Linked DNA regions of Homo sapiens: region 1 is linked to region 2. Evidence: promoter capture Hi-C in 16 types of primary human blood cells and fetal thymus (Javierre and others, 2016). All regions are on one chromosome and are shown on one strand. Each heading gives the region's core, a stretch centred on a gene start or on the middle of the fragment in contact. The rest is flanking DNA. Distances are from core to core; before and after follow the strand shown. Region 1 overlaps GRIA4 (glutamate ionotropic receptor AMPA type subunit 4). Region 2 holds the start of CASP5 (caspase 5).

Region 1 (6,297 bases), core at 2,152-4,651, 830 kb after region 2:
AGATAAGTACAGGATTGGTGGGGTGGGGGGAGTGTAGAATTTAGAGAAAAGCAAACAATCAACACTCTCCTTTCTTTCCACTTTTTCTGGAGTTGGTCTAAGTGACAGGAGATTTGGCATTATGCCTGTATTAATTTCAGTAGTCTCCTATTTGGATTCCCTGTCCTCCTTCTCTTTCCACTCTTCGGATGCATCATTTCCACTATATCAAACTAGCATTATAAAAGCAGTTTTATAAATCTGTCTCTTCTCTGCTCCAAAGCTTCGAAGGTTTCTACTGTTTCAGTATTGTTTCACAATGATCAGTGGAGTAATTTCTAAACTTTCAGTATTTAATTATCCAAAACTATTTATCGAGTCCCTTTTAGATGCCAAGTCTTCTTCTAGGCACAGTGAACAAAACAAGCCTCCTGACTTCATGAGCTTACCTTTTAGTATGGGAAAGAGACAATAAACAAGGTGAGTGAGTAAAATCTAGAGTATATTAGGTGGTGGTGAAGTGTTGGGGAGAAAGTAAAGCAGAGAAGAGGAATAGAAAAGCACAGGATGAAGGAGCTGAAATTTTAGATAAAGTAACCCAGAACGGCCTCACTGAAGAGAGGGCATTTGGGTAGAAACCTAAGAACATAAAGGCAAAACCCTGAAGACCCATCTTGGGGAAAGCACAGCAGGGTGAAGCCTGAGCCAGAGCACCCCTGGCAAAGCAGCCAGATGTCTGGTGATGTTTGAGAGCAAGAGAGCAGTGGATGACGTCAGTATAAAGGAGCAATTGGAGAGTTTGGACCTGTAAGTGGTATGATCTGGCTTGCCTGAAAAGTTCCATTCCTGAAGCTATGCTATGAGTAGTGCAAAGCGGGCAAAGGTGGAGGAAATAAAAGACATGTAAAGAGGCATTTGCAAACAAGAGGCTTGGGCCTGGGTGGAGGCAGTGTCGGTAGGAAGAAATGGCCAGGTTTTTGATATATTTTGAAGGTAGCCTTGACAGAATATGCTAAAATACGAGATGTGATTGTGAGAGAAAGAATGGAATTAATGGTGACTGTGATTGAAAGGCCTTCACATCACAGCCTCATCCTTCCTTGCTAATTTCATCGCTCTCTCTGCATGCTGAAGTGTGGTGAAAAGTCCCTAAGCTGGAGAATGGAAGACTTGAGTTCATTCACATTTCTGCCACTTAGTGGGGTTATGCTTTGATGTAAGTCACATAAATTGTTTTTATTTCTTCACCTTTATGGTGGGGATAATATCTACTTCACAGGGCTGTTATGAGGTTCAACTGTATTGTGAAATACTAATAAAGCATAATGTAGTTTATGAATACATTACTCCAGCAGCCTGCTCTATTAACTATCAATGATTAATAATTTATTAAGCATTCTCCAAGCTCCTGCCTCTGTGCCTTTGCTTTATGATGCAGCAGCTCCTTCCTCCTCACCATCTTTATTCATCAACCCTTTCCATCCTTTAGGGACCATACTACAGTCCAAGTCATTCTCTCCATGGTGAAACCCCCTTTGAAAGGGTCTAATCTTTTGCTTAACACTGCTTTCCCAAGGTATCGCAATATTGAATAGGTTTGACACTCAAAATTATGTCTTACATACCTTACATGCTTAATATTAGACAAAGACCTTGTTTGAGTGCCTGTTAACTCACAAACATATATTTTAATTCCCTTATAAAAATACAATGGTTGTTTTTACACACATTGGAACTGTGAGCTTTATATAATGTGATATAAAAAAGTATCAAATCAGAATTATAAATTTTATATAGTGTGATATATAAAATATATAGTAAAACAGATAAAAGAAAAAGTTGTACTTTATGAGCAAAATAATAGCTATATAGTAATTATGCTAGATATTTATTCTGATTGGAAATTAGTCTTTTGCTATTTGAGTTTAAAATTATTCAAATTTTTCAAAAATGCTTTACTTAAAATAGAAACACATTGCCTTTATTGTAAAAAGATGTTTGTGGAGGCCCACAGTGCTAAGAAGATAAATAATGATGGAGGCAAACTTGAAAAGAGATCAGTGTATTCATAGGGAATATTCAAAATCTACAGATTGTTTCTAGAATCATTGATGTCTATAACCAGAGAGAAAAATGGGTTTCTCAGACCTCTGTCATAATTTATTATACTACTTTGGGTGATGAAGGAGGTGGCTGCAAGGATAGTTTTCATCAGAAGTCAACTGACACCTGAAATCCAAATGGAAAAATATGTGCTTCTGAAGGTCAAAAAAACCCTAAGAGTTCAATCTGAAAATAGAAGTAGAATGACCACCAGTAGAATAGATAGTAGTCTGACTCAAATCATCTCTCTATGATTTATGTGTCATTAATCACTAAGCTGATTTATTCTGTATCCTTAATCTAGAAACTATTCTCCTTCCTCTGCATGGTCCTAAATCTGGCCCCCATTACTTCTCACCTGGATTACTACCATGTGGGTTCCTAAGTGATTTTCCCATTTCTGTGTTTCCCACATCCATTGTATTTTCCACACTTCAGCTGTAATCATCCCTCTAAGACACATTGTTTTGTCACTCTTTTCTGAGAGTCTATGAAGTAAAACCTAAATTTCTTTAAATGATAGAGAAAGCTCTTGTAATATATCCCTTGCCTGTTCACCTCTCCAGTCTTAGAAGCTCTTTCCACAGCCCATGCCAATTCTCCACATATCCCTTCTTGTCCTTCCAAACATACAAAATAAACTGAAGTTTTTGAAGCTTCTGAATGTGACCTGCTATGCAAGATAAAAAGTATATTCATACAGTCTTTTAAGGAGAGTTTCCTGAAGCCTCCACACAACCGTTCCACTTATAACCCATTGCCCACAACTTAGTCACAGAGCCATATATCTAGCTGAAAGAGAAGCAAGGAAATATATTTATTCTGACTGTCCATAGGTCCAAGTTAAAATCCCACTGCTTTGGATGAAGGGGTGAAGTAGTAGTAGAGAACCACCAACTTACAGACTCTACGACAGTGCTTTAACTTTAAAGATTTAAAGTATCAAATTTTCTTATAAGATGTCATCTGAACTAAATATGAATACTAGGGAATCAGAAGACAGTAAATGTTAGTGTCAGAAAATGCCTTAGGAAAAATCTAGGACCCAGAATAACCACCTTTAACAATGATTATTATCAATCCATCTTTGAAGATGAATTCTCTACTTTTACTCTTGAGTGTTTGTAGAAAAGGGAAAACTCAAGACATTCCATCTTATCTTGGGTTTACGTGAATAGCTTCAGGCTGTAAAAGTAGGAAAATCTTTGCTTATTTTTAGTATGCCCTTTTTGAACTACGGCATAAATAAATACTATAGTTACAGCTGCAGGTAATTTTACCCAAGCTACAATGTTGGTTATTCCTCCATGTACTGAAACCTGGGAGTCCAGACTGTGGCCTTTGAACATGTTATTTCAGTACTAAGCTGCTTTGGAAAGAGTCCAACCTAAATGGTTATTAAATCTACTCTACAGTTCCAGCATGGTGGCATTAAATGCAGTGAGGATTACAGAATCTTATTCCTTTCTTGACTCAAATCAATAAGTGGCGTTAGACACACACAGACACACACACCTTTCTCCTTGAATCCACCAGTTTTGGATACTGACAAATTGTGCCAGACCAGAGATATTGATGATGTAGCAGCAAGAACCTCCATAGCAATTTACAAGATTTATGAGGGAGGCTTTAATTTAACTAACTACAAGCTGCTGCTATGCCCCTTGCCATGTTCCCTTTTCAGGCTCAGCAACCCCCCATGGGACAGACCTAGTCTTCTCCTTCCCAAACCAGTTCCCATAATCTAGATGTTTCTCTATCCCATATTCATCAAACTGGCATACCCTTCATCTTATTACTTCATTATTCTGATGATATTCCCTGATTATTTCCACATTCTCACCTCTTCCCATTTTCTCCTCAATTTCTCAATCTGAAAAATGTCTTCTATATCCAGCATTCCATTAACCCTGCTCATGCTAAGTGCACCAATGACCTTCTCATTGAAAAGCAGAATGGACACTTTCTAGTTCTCATCCAAGTAAAGCTTTTTCAGGGCATATGGATAACTCTTTCTTTTCTAAATACTTTCTTCCCTGGCACAAATGTATTCTGCTTCTCTTTCTGCTGCTCTGTGTGCTGACAGTTAAATAACTCTTGCAAACAAAAACATCAAATAAATAAGCCCAGCTATTGTTGTGAGTAGCAACATCTCTGAATTGGTACTCATGCAAAATAGGTCATTATCCATGGATGATGTAATAAGTGTTGACATGTAAGGGTGCAGTAGCTCAGGACTGCTTACCTCATTTTGATTCTATTTAACATAATTGATAAAATCTTTATGTGATATCATAACACTTAAAAATATTTTATATGTAATTGACAGTGTTCTTTAGTAACTATGAAAAAGCCCTTAATTACTATTATAATCTAATAAAGTGATTATGTCGATGATATGCTCTGCTATTCTAAAAAATTATTTTCATTACTTTGAATTTATTTATATAATGCTGTGTATTTTGCATAATGGATAGTTTACCTATCGGTTTTCCTAGATAGTAAATTCTTTGTAAAGACAAGAATCACATCTTTATCTTTTGTTTCACCTTTGTATTTCACATTACCTATCTTTTTAAAAATGTTCTTATAGGTACATAGTAGCTGTGTATATTTATGGGGTGCATGAAATATTTTGATACAGGCATACAGTGCATAATGATCACATCAGAGTAACTTAGTATCCATCTCCTCAAGCATTTATTCTTTCTTTATGTTATAAACATTCTAGTTATACTCTTACAGTTATTTTAAAATGTACAATAAATTATTGTTGACTTTAGTCACCCTGTTGTGCTATCAAAGACTATATCTTATTTATCTTATCTAACTATATTTTTGTACCTATTAACCATCCCCATTTCCCTCCTCCCTCACTATCCTTCCCAGCCTCTGGTAACCATCATTCTACTATCTCCAATAAGTTCAGTTGTTTTAACTTTTAGCTCCTATAAATGAGTGAGAACATGGGAAACTTGTCTTTCTGTGCCTGGCTTATTTCAGTTAACAAAATGTCATCCAGTTCCCACATCTTTATCTTGATATAATTTATAGAATTCTGTATGTAGTAGGTTTTCAGTAAATTATATAGAATTAAAATGTTAGACAGCTTTTTAGAGTAGAAGCAAGATTTAAAATATCCTTTACAGTAGTGAATTTCCTGTTAACTACATGATATTCATCTAAAACTGCAGTATTCATTCTTTGGCCAACAATATTATACTACAAATTTTCTAATACCTAGGAGATGCAAATCATAGCCAGATGTGGAAATAGTATGACTTGACTTATGATTATCTAGTTTATATAACAACTAAGTTACATAATCATAGATTCAACAGCAGTATTTTATCCTAGTTACAATATATTTCCAGCTATGTTAGCAAATAAATAAGACACTCACATCTGAATATCAATGAATAATAAGAGAGCATATTAGAATCAAACATAGCTTATAAAAGAGTATGATTTTAGCCAAGCTCTGAAACTATTACTGCATGTCCTTTGCACTGCAATGAAAGGATGCCATTTATTTCTGACTATGATTAATGGGGCTTTTTAAGTAACCAACTTTCTTTGCCATTCAACAAAGATTGTGTCCTAGGGTTCTGTCTGATTCCAATTCTAGTGTCATTTGTAAATCTAAAAAATCAGATAATGGAAGGCTGGATTTGAATTATAATTTTGTTTTTAGAGTTAGTCCTTCAATTTGTAAGGTAAGTGGGCATATCTATAAATTTCATCAGAAGGTGTGTGGCTCCACATTCTGTAAAAGTCATGTCAGCAGGAGAATAACAACATGGATGCCTAGTCCTGACATGAAGCCTGACAGCCAGAAATGCAGCAATATTTAGAGTATCGTGCCAAGCTGTGAATTAAGCCCAGGGAGAAGACTATTTCTATGTGTGGGGGCCGTTTTTATTATTTTTGCAACACTCAAGCAAACAAAAAAAATCTTAGCATTATTCTGGTATGATGATAAATAAAAGGAGAAAAAAGAAAAGTAATACGTCAATTGGTATTTTTAAAAGCATTCATTTTAAGTCGAAGAACATGTTCATAGGTGTCAAAAAAAGATTTAAAAGAACATTGCCTCAGTTACCATCAGAGCATAAGCCCCTGCAACAGAATAAATGAGGCATGAACATATATATTAAGGAAGGTTTCATGTCATCACGTTACATATGTGTCGAATGGGAAACAAGAGAAAGAATG
Region 2 (6,339 bases), core at 2,836-5,335:
AATAAAGATGTTCTTTGAAACCAACGAGAACAAAGATACAACATACCAGAATCTCTGGGATGCATTCAAAGCAGTGTGTAGAGGGAAATTTATAGCACTAAATGCCCACAAGAGAAAGCAGGAAAGATCCAAAATTGACACCCTAACATCACAATTAAAGGAACTAGAAAAGCAAGAGCAAACACATTCAAAAGCTAGCAGAAGGCAAGAAATAACTAAAATCAGAGCAGAACTGAAGGAAATAGAGACACAAAAAACCCTTCAAAAAATTAATGAATCCAGGAGCTGGTTTTTTGAAAGGATCAACAAAATTCATAGACCGCTAGCAAGACTAATAAAGAAAAAAAGAGAGAAGAATCAAATAGACGCAATAAAAAATGATAATGGGGATATCACCACCGATCCCACAGAAATACAAACTACCATCAGAGAATACTACAAACACCTCTACGCAAATAAACTAGAAAATCTAGAAGAAATGGATAAGTTTCTGGACACATACACTCTCCCAAGACTAAACCAGGAAGAAGTTGAATCTCTGAATGGACCAATAACAGGATCTGAAATTGTGGCAATAATCAAAAGCTTACCAACTAAAAAGAGTCCAGGACCAGATGGATTCACAGCCGAATTCTACCAGAGGTACAAGGAGGAACTGGTACCATTCCTTCTGAAACTATTCCAATCAATAGAAAAAGAGGGAATCCTCCCTAACTCATTTTATGAGGCCAGCATCATCCTGATACCAAAGCCGGGCAGAGACACAACCAAAAAAGAGAATTTTAGACCAATATCCTTGATGAACATTGATGCAAAAATCCTCAATAAAATACTGGCAAACCGAATCTAGCAGCACATCAAAAAGCTTATCCACCATGATCAAGGGGGCTTCATCCCTGGGATGCAAGGCTGGTTCAATATACGCAAATCAATAAATATAATCCAGCATATAAACAGAACCAAAGACAAAAACCACGTGATTATCTCAATAGATGCAGAAAAGTTCTTTGACAAAATTCAACAACGCTTCATGCTAAAAACTCTCAATAAATTAGGTATTGATGGGATGTATTTCAAAATAATAAGAGCTATCTATGACAAACCCACAGCCAATATCATACTGAATGGGCAAAAACTGGAAGCATTCCCTTTGAAAACTGGCACAAGACAGGGATGCCCTCTCTCACCACTCCTATTCAACATAGTGTTGGAAGTTCTGGCCAGGGCGATCAGGCAGGAGAAGAAAATAAAGGGTATTCAATTAGGAAAAGTGGAAGTCAAATTGTCCCTGTTTGCAGACGACATGATTGTATATCTAGAAAACCCCATTGTCTCAGCCCAAAATCTCCTTAAGCTGATAAGCAACTTCAGCAAAGTCTCAGGATACAAAATCAATGTACAAAAATCACAAGCATTCTTATACACCAACAACAGACAAACAGAGAGCCAAATCATGAGTGAACTCCCATTCACAATTGCTTCAAAGAGAATAAAATACCTAGGAATCCAACTTACAAGGGATGTGAAGGACCTCTTCAAGGAGAACTACAAACCACTGCTCAAGGAAATAAAAGAGGGTACAAACAAATGGAAGAACATTCCATGCTCATGGGTAGGAAGAATCAATATCGTGAAAAATGGCCATACTGCCCAAGATAATTTACAGATTCAATGCCATCGCCATCAAGCTACCAATGACTTTCTTCACAGAATTGGAAAAAACTACTTTACAGTTCATATGGAACCAAAAAAGAGCCCGCATTGCCACGTCAATCCTGAGCCAAAAGAACAAAGCTGGAGGCATCACACTACCTGACTTCAAACTATACTACAAAGCTACAGTAACCAAAACAGCATGGTACTGGTACCAACACAGAGATATAGATCAATGGAACAGAACAGAGCCCTCAGAAATAATGCCGCATATCTACAACTATCTGATCTTTGACAAACCTGAGACAAACAAGCAATGCGGAAAGGATTCCCTATTTAATAAATGGTGCTGGGAAAACTGGCTAGCCATATGTAGAAAGCTGAAACTGGATCCCTTCCTTACACCTTATACAAAAATTAATTCAAGATGGATTAAAGACTTAAAAGTTAGACCTAAAACCATAAAAACCCTAGAAGAAAACCTAGACATTACCATTCAGGACATAGGCATGGGCAAGGACTTCATGTCTAAAACACCAAAAGCAATGGCAACAGAAGCCAAAATTGACAAATGGGATCTAATTAAACTAAAGAGCTTCTACACAGCAAAAGAAACTACCGTCAGAGTGAACAGGCAACCTACAAAATGGGAGAAAATTTTCGCAACCTACTCGTCTGACAAAGGGCTAATATCCAGAATCTACAATGAACTCAAACAAATTTACAAGAAAAAAACAAACAACCCCATCAAAAAGTGGGCGAAGGACATGAACAGACACTTCTCAAAAGAAGACATTTATGCAGCCAAAAAACACATGAAAAAGTGCTCACCATCACTGGCCATCAGAGAAATGCAAATCAAAACCACAATGAGATACCATCTCACACGAGTTAGAATGGCAATCATTAAAAAGTCAGGAAACAACAGGTGCTGGAGAGGATGTGGAAAAATAGGAACACTTTTACACTGTTGGTGGGACTGTAAACTAGTTCAACCATTGTGGAAGTCAGTGTGGCGATTCCACAGGGATCTAGAACTAGAAATACCATTTGACCCAGCCATCCCTTTACTGGGTATATACCCAAAGGACTATAAATCATGCTGCTATAAAGACACATGCACACGTATGTTTATTGTGGCATTATTCACAATAGCAAAGACTTGGAACCAACCCAAATGTCCAACAATGATAGACTGGATTAAGAAAATGTGGCACATATACACCATGGAATATTATGCAGCCATAAAAAATGATGAGTTCATGTCCTTTGTAGGGACATGGATGAAATTGGAAATCATCATTCTCAGTAAACTATCACAAGAACAAAAAACCAAACACCGCATATTCTCACTCATAGGTGGGAACTGAACAATGAGAACACATGGACACAGGAAGGGGAACATCACACTCTGGAGCCTGTTGTGGGGTGGGGGGAGGGGGGAGGGATAGCATTGGGAGGTATACCTAATGCTAGATGACGAGTTAGTGGGTGCAGCCCACCAGCATGTCACATGTATACATATGTAACTAACCTGCACATTGTGCACATGTACCCTAAAACTTAAAGTATAATAATAATAAATAAATAAATTAAAGAAAAAAAAAGACTGCAGATTATTCATATATGTTATAAGGTTTAGAAAGCACTGATCTATTCCAGTTTCTTCCTTTTTCCAGTGAGGAGAATGAAACCAAAGACGCAATATGACCTGCTGGAATACGAGCTGCTTAAGTAGCCCAGGACTCCAACTCATAGGCTTTTTTAGCTTCTGTGTATAAGACAGTTGGCCTGAAAGTAGTGTGCAGTATGGACTGAAGGGTTAAGTTTTTGGGAGTGGGAAGACAGTTAAAAGTCTATGATAGCAACCTAAGATATATTACATTATAAGAGTTAGTACCAGGACTACATAGAAAGGTGGAAAAATGCAATCACTTTAAACAGACCAATAAGATAATTCAAGATAAGAGATGACAACACGTTGAGAACACAGAGGCTCTCAGATCTGATTGTGGGGAGAAGGTTCATAGTCTGGAGGATTAATTTGGAATCAAGAGGAAGCAGAGAAGATTTCAGAGTGCATTTAGAAATTTCCGGAGTTTTCTCACACAAATAACTTACTCTGTCTTTCCTTACTCTCTCTTTGATTACCAGAAGCTGAAAGAAAGGAATTAACCTTTTTCTGGCTTGAAAACATCTAGAGAACATACTCTCCTTCAGTGTCTCTACACAGTCTCAGGATTCAAACTACATACCACCAATAAGAGAAAGATTCAGCATGCACACTATTGGTTGATTTCCCTTTTGGTATTTCTGCCTGTCACATAGCAATAAATCAAGATTTTTCTAAGACCTGAGTACCCAGCTGCTAGTCAGAAAAGGGCCCAGACTCACCAGCCATAGCTAACAGCCTCTGTCTCTTTGTACAGCACTGGAAAGTGCCTCAGACTCAGAGATAAAATACACTAGGTACTTCCTTATTGCAGGGAGTGGGGACAAGTGATTACAGATTATGGGAAGTTGCTTCTGGGAACCTATAGTTTCATCATTGGGAAGTGCCCTGTAGTAAGCAAATTGGCTTTCTATTCTTGAACTCTAGATTCTTCCCTGGGGAAAAAAAATGCAAATGACAAAACATTGTTTTGTGGGTTGAAACCTCAGCCTGGTTTTCTTTTTCCTTTTCTCTCTCCATAGCCCCACATCTTCTTTTATTCATCCCTCTCTTCTGATCTGTCAGTTTTTCTACCTCTGCTCGTCTAAAAACACATGTCCTGAATGAGTAAAATCTAACTAGTTTCCTTGCATCTTCCCATAAGAATTAACCAAATATTTTGTATATCTTGGGTTTCTTTATTTTTCATTTCAATTTTTATTTGAGTTTCAGGGGTACATATGCAGGTTTGTTACAAGAGTATATTAGGTGATGCAGAGGTTTGTAGTACAATTTAACCTATTACCTAGGTAGTGAGAATAGCACCCAGTACATAGTTTTTCGGCTCTTGCCTTCTTCCTTCATTCCTCCCTCTGGTATTTCCCTGTGTCTGTTATTCCCGTCTTTATGTCCATGTGTACACAATATTTAGCTAGAACTTACAAGTGAGATTATGTGATATTTGGTTTTCTGTTTCTGCATTAATTTGCTTAGAATAATGGCCTCCAGTTGCATCCATGTTGCTGCAAAGGGCAGGGTTTCATTTTTATGGCTGTGTAACATTCCATAGTAGCAGTGTACCACATTTTTTTAAATCCAATCCACCATTGATGGACACCTGGGTTGATTCTATTATTTTGGCTACAGTGAATAGTGCTGCGACAAACATTTGAAAGCACATGTCTTTTTGATAGAACAGTACATTTTCCTTTGAGGATTCAGTCAGTAATGGGATGCTTGGACAAATGATAGTTCTTTTTTTAGTTATTTGGTAAATCTCCAAACTGCTTTTCAAAAAGATGGATGCATCACATTACTGGACTTCAAGCTATGCTAGAAGTCTACAGTAACCACAACAGCAAGGTATTCGTACAAAAAAAACAGACACAAAGCCCAATGGAACAGAATAGAGAACCCCAAAATAAAGCCACACACCTATAACCAACTGATACTCAACAAAGTCAACAACAACAGCAAAAAGAAACAAGGAAAGGATTGTTTATTCAATAAATGTATTTCTTGTTTAAACTGTGCTGAGGAATCATGATGGAGTCTTCTCCTCCCCATCTCCCTGTCATCTTACGCTTTGATTGGAGACAGTTCTGAAGGAATCCTCTTATCTACTTCCTGGAATGCTGTTCTTCAACTGACTAAAACTGCTTTAACAGTTAATTTTTACTTAGGGTGGCAATTCACTTCTCCTTTTTGATATTCTCTGAGCAAAGACTGATCACAGATGTAGTCTCAGGTTGTAGTAGAGTATGCATGATAACACAGAAGAGATATGCCCAGAGAAACAGTTAATAAAAGGTAAAAAAAAAAAAAAAGAGAGAGAGAGAGAGACTGTAATGTGTTCAACTATGAAGGTGTTTAAGAAGTCAGAAATTAACTCTCATTTAATCTGTTAAATATTAGAAAAAAACATATTTGCAAGTAAGGGGTAGTTCTTCGAATCCTCCCTAAATCTTAACATCCCTGAGTGCATGATTTCACCCCAAACTCGTTTTCTCTGCACCATGCCAGGACTTCACTGTGCACACCATGCATCCTAGAGTTTCTTCAGGGTGTCAGGCACCATCTGCCAAGCGCTTCATTTTGGATGGCTGTCTTATCTTTTCAAGAAGTCTGTGAACTACTGAGGGTTGATTCAAAACTTACTTTGTCTTAAATACTTTTGCAAAGGGTAGAAACATGCAAGTTCATGGATTTGTCAGTAGCAAACTGTGGGATTTGGGAAAAGTTCTTTATCACACTACACTGTCGCTGTCATAACTAGCTGTCTTCCCCCGTCTCTCCTGCTGAGCTCTAAATTATTTGAAGTCAGATACCTGCTGTAACTTATATCACATCCCCAAAGCAGAAAGCCCAGCAAACGATTTTTCTTTTTTTAAAAATGGCACAAAATAAATTTTTGTTCAAGAAAGTAATTAATAACATTGCTATGTTTGTAAGTCTGATTTTCTTTTTTAAATTTTTATATTTTATTTTACTTTAAGTTCTGGGAAAGAAAGGTGCCAATAGCCAGTTTGGGTCTG

What was found. Contacts are between HindIII fragments. The CHiCAGO score rates a contact against its expected background, and 5 or more counts as called.
Region 1: a fragment that was not itself captured here is called in contact with the fragment with the promoter of CASP5 in region 2 in 1 of 17 cell types (M1 macrophages); the score reaches 5.8 in M1 macrophages.

What each region holds. Positions count from the first base shown.
Region 1 is chr11:105,853,705-105,860,001 of GRCh38, forward strand. The region is part of intron 4 of GRIA4 (glutamate ionotropic receptor AMPA type subunit 4); the gene reads left to right. Among named protein-coding and RNA genes, the nearest start is that of MSANTD4, 170 kb to the right of the region's middle. The HindIII fragment of the contact is 1,331 bases long and covers 2,737-4,067 here.
Region 2 is chr11:105,019,083-105,025,421 of GRCh38, forward strand. It overlaps CASP5 (caspase 5), which reads right to left and starts at 4,086. Exons shown (of 10, transcript NM_004347.5): 1 at 4,048-4,086. The coding sequence starts at 4,054. All of the region lies in intron 1 of LOC124902742 (a long non-coding RNA gene), which reads left to right. The HindIII fragment of the contact is 8,276 bases long and covers 864-6,339 here.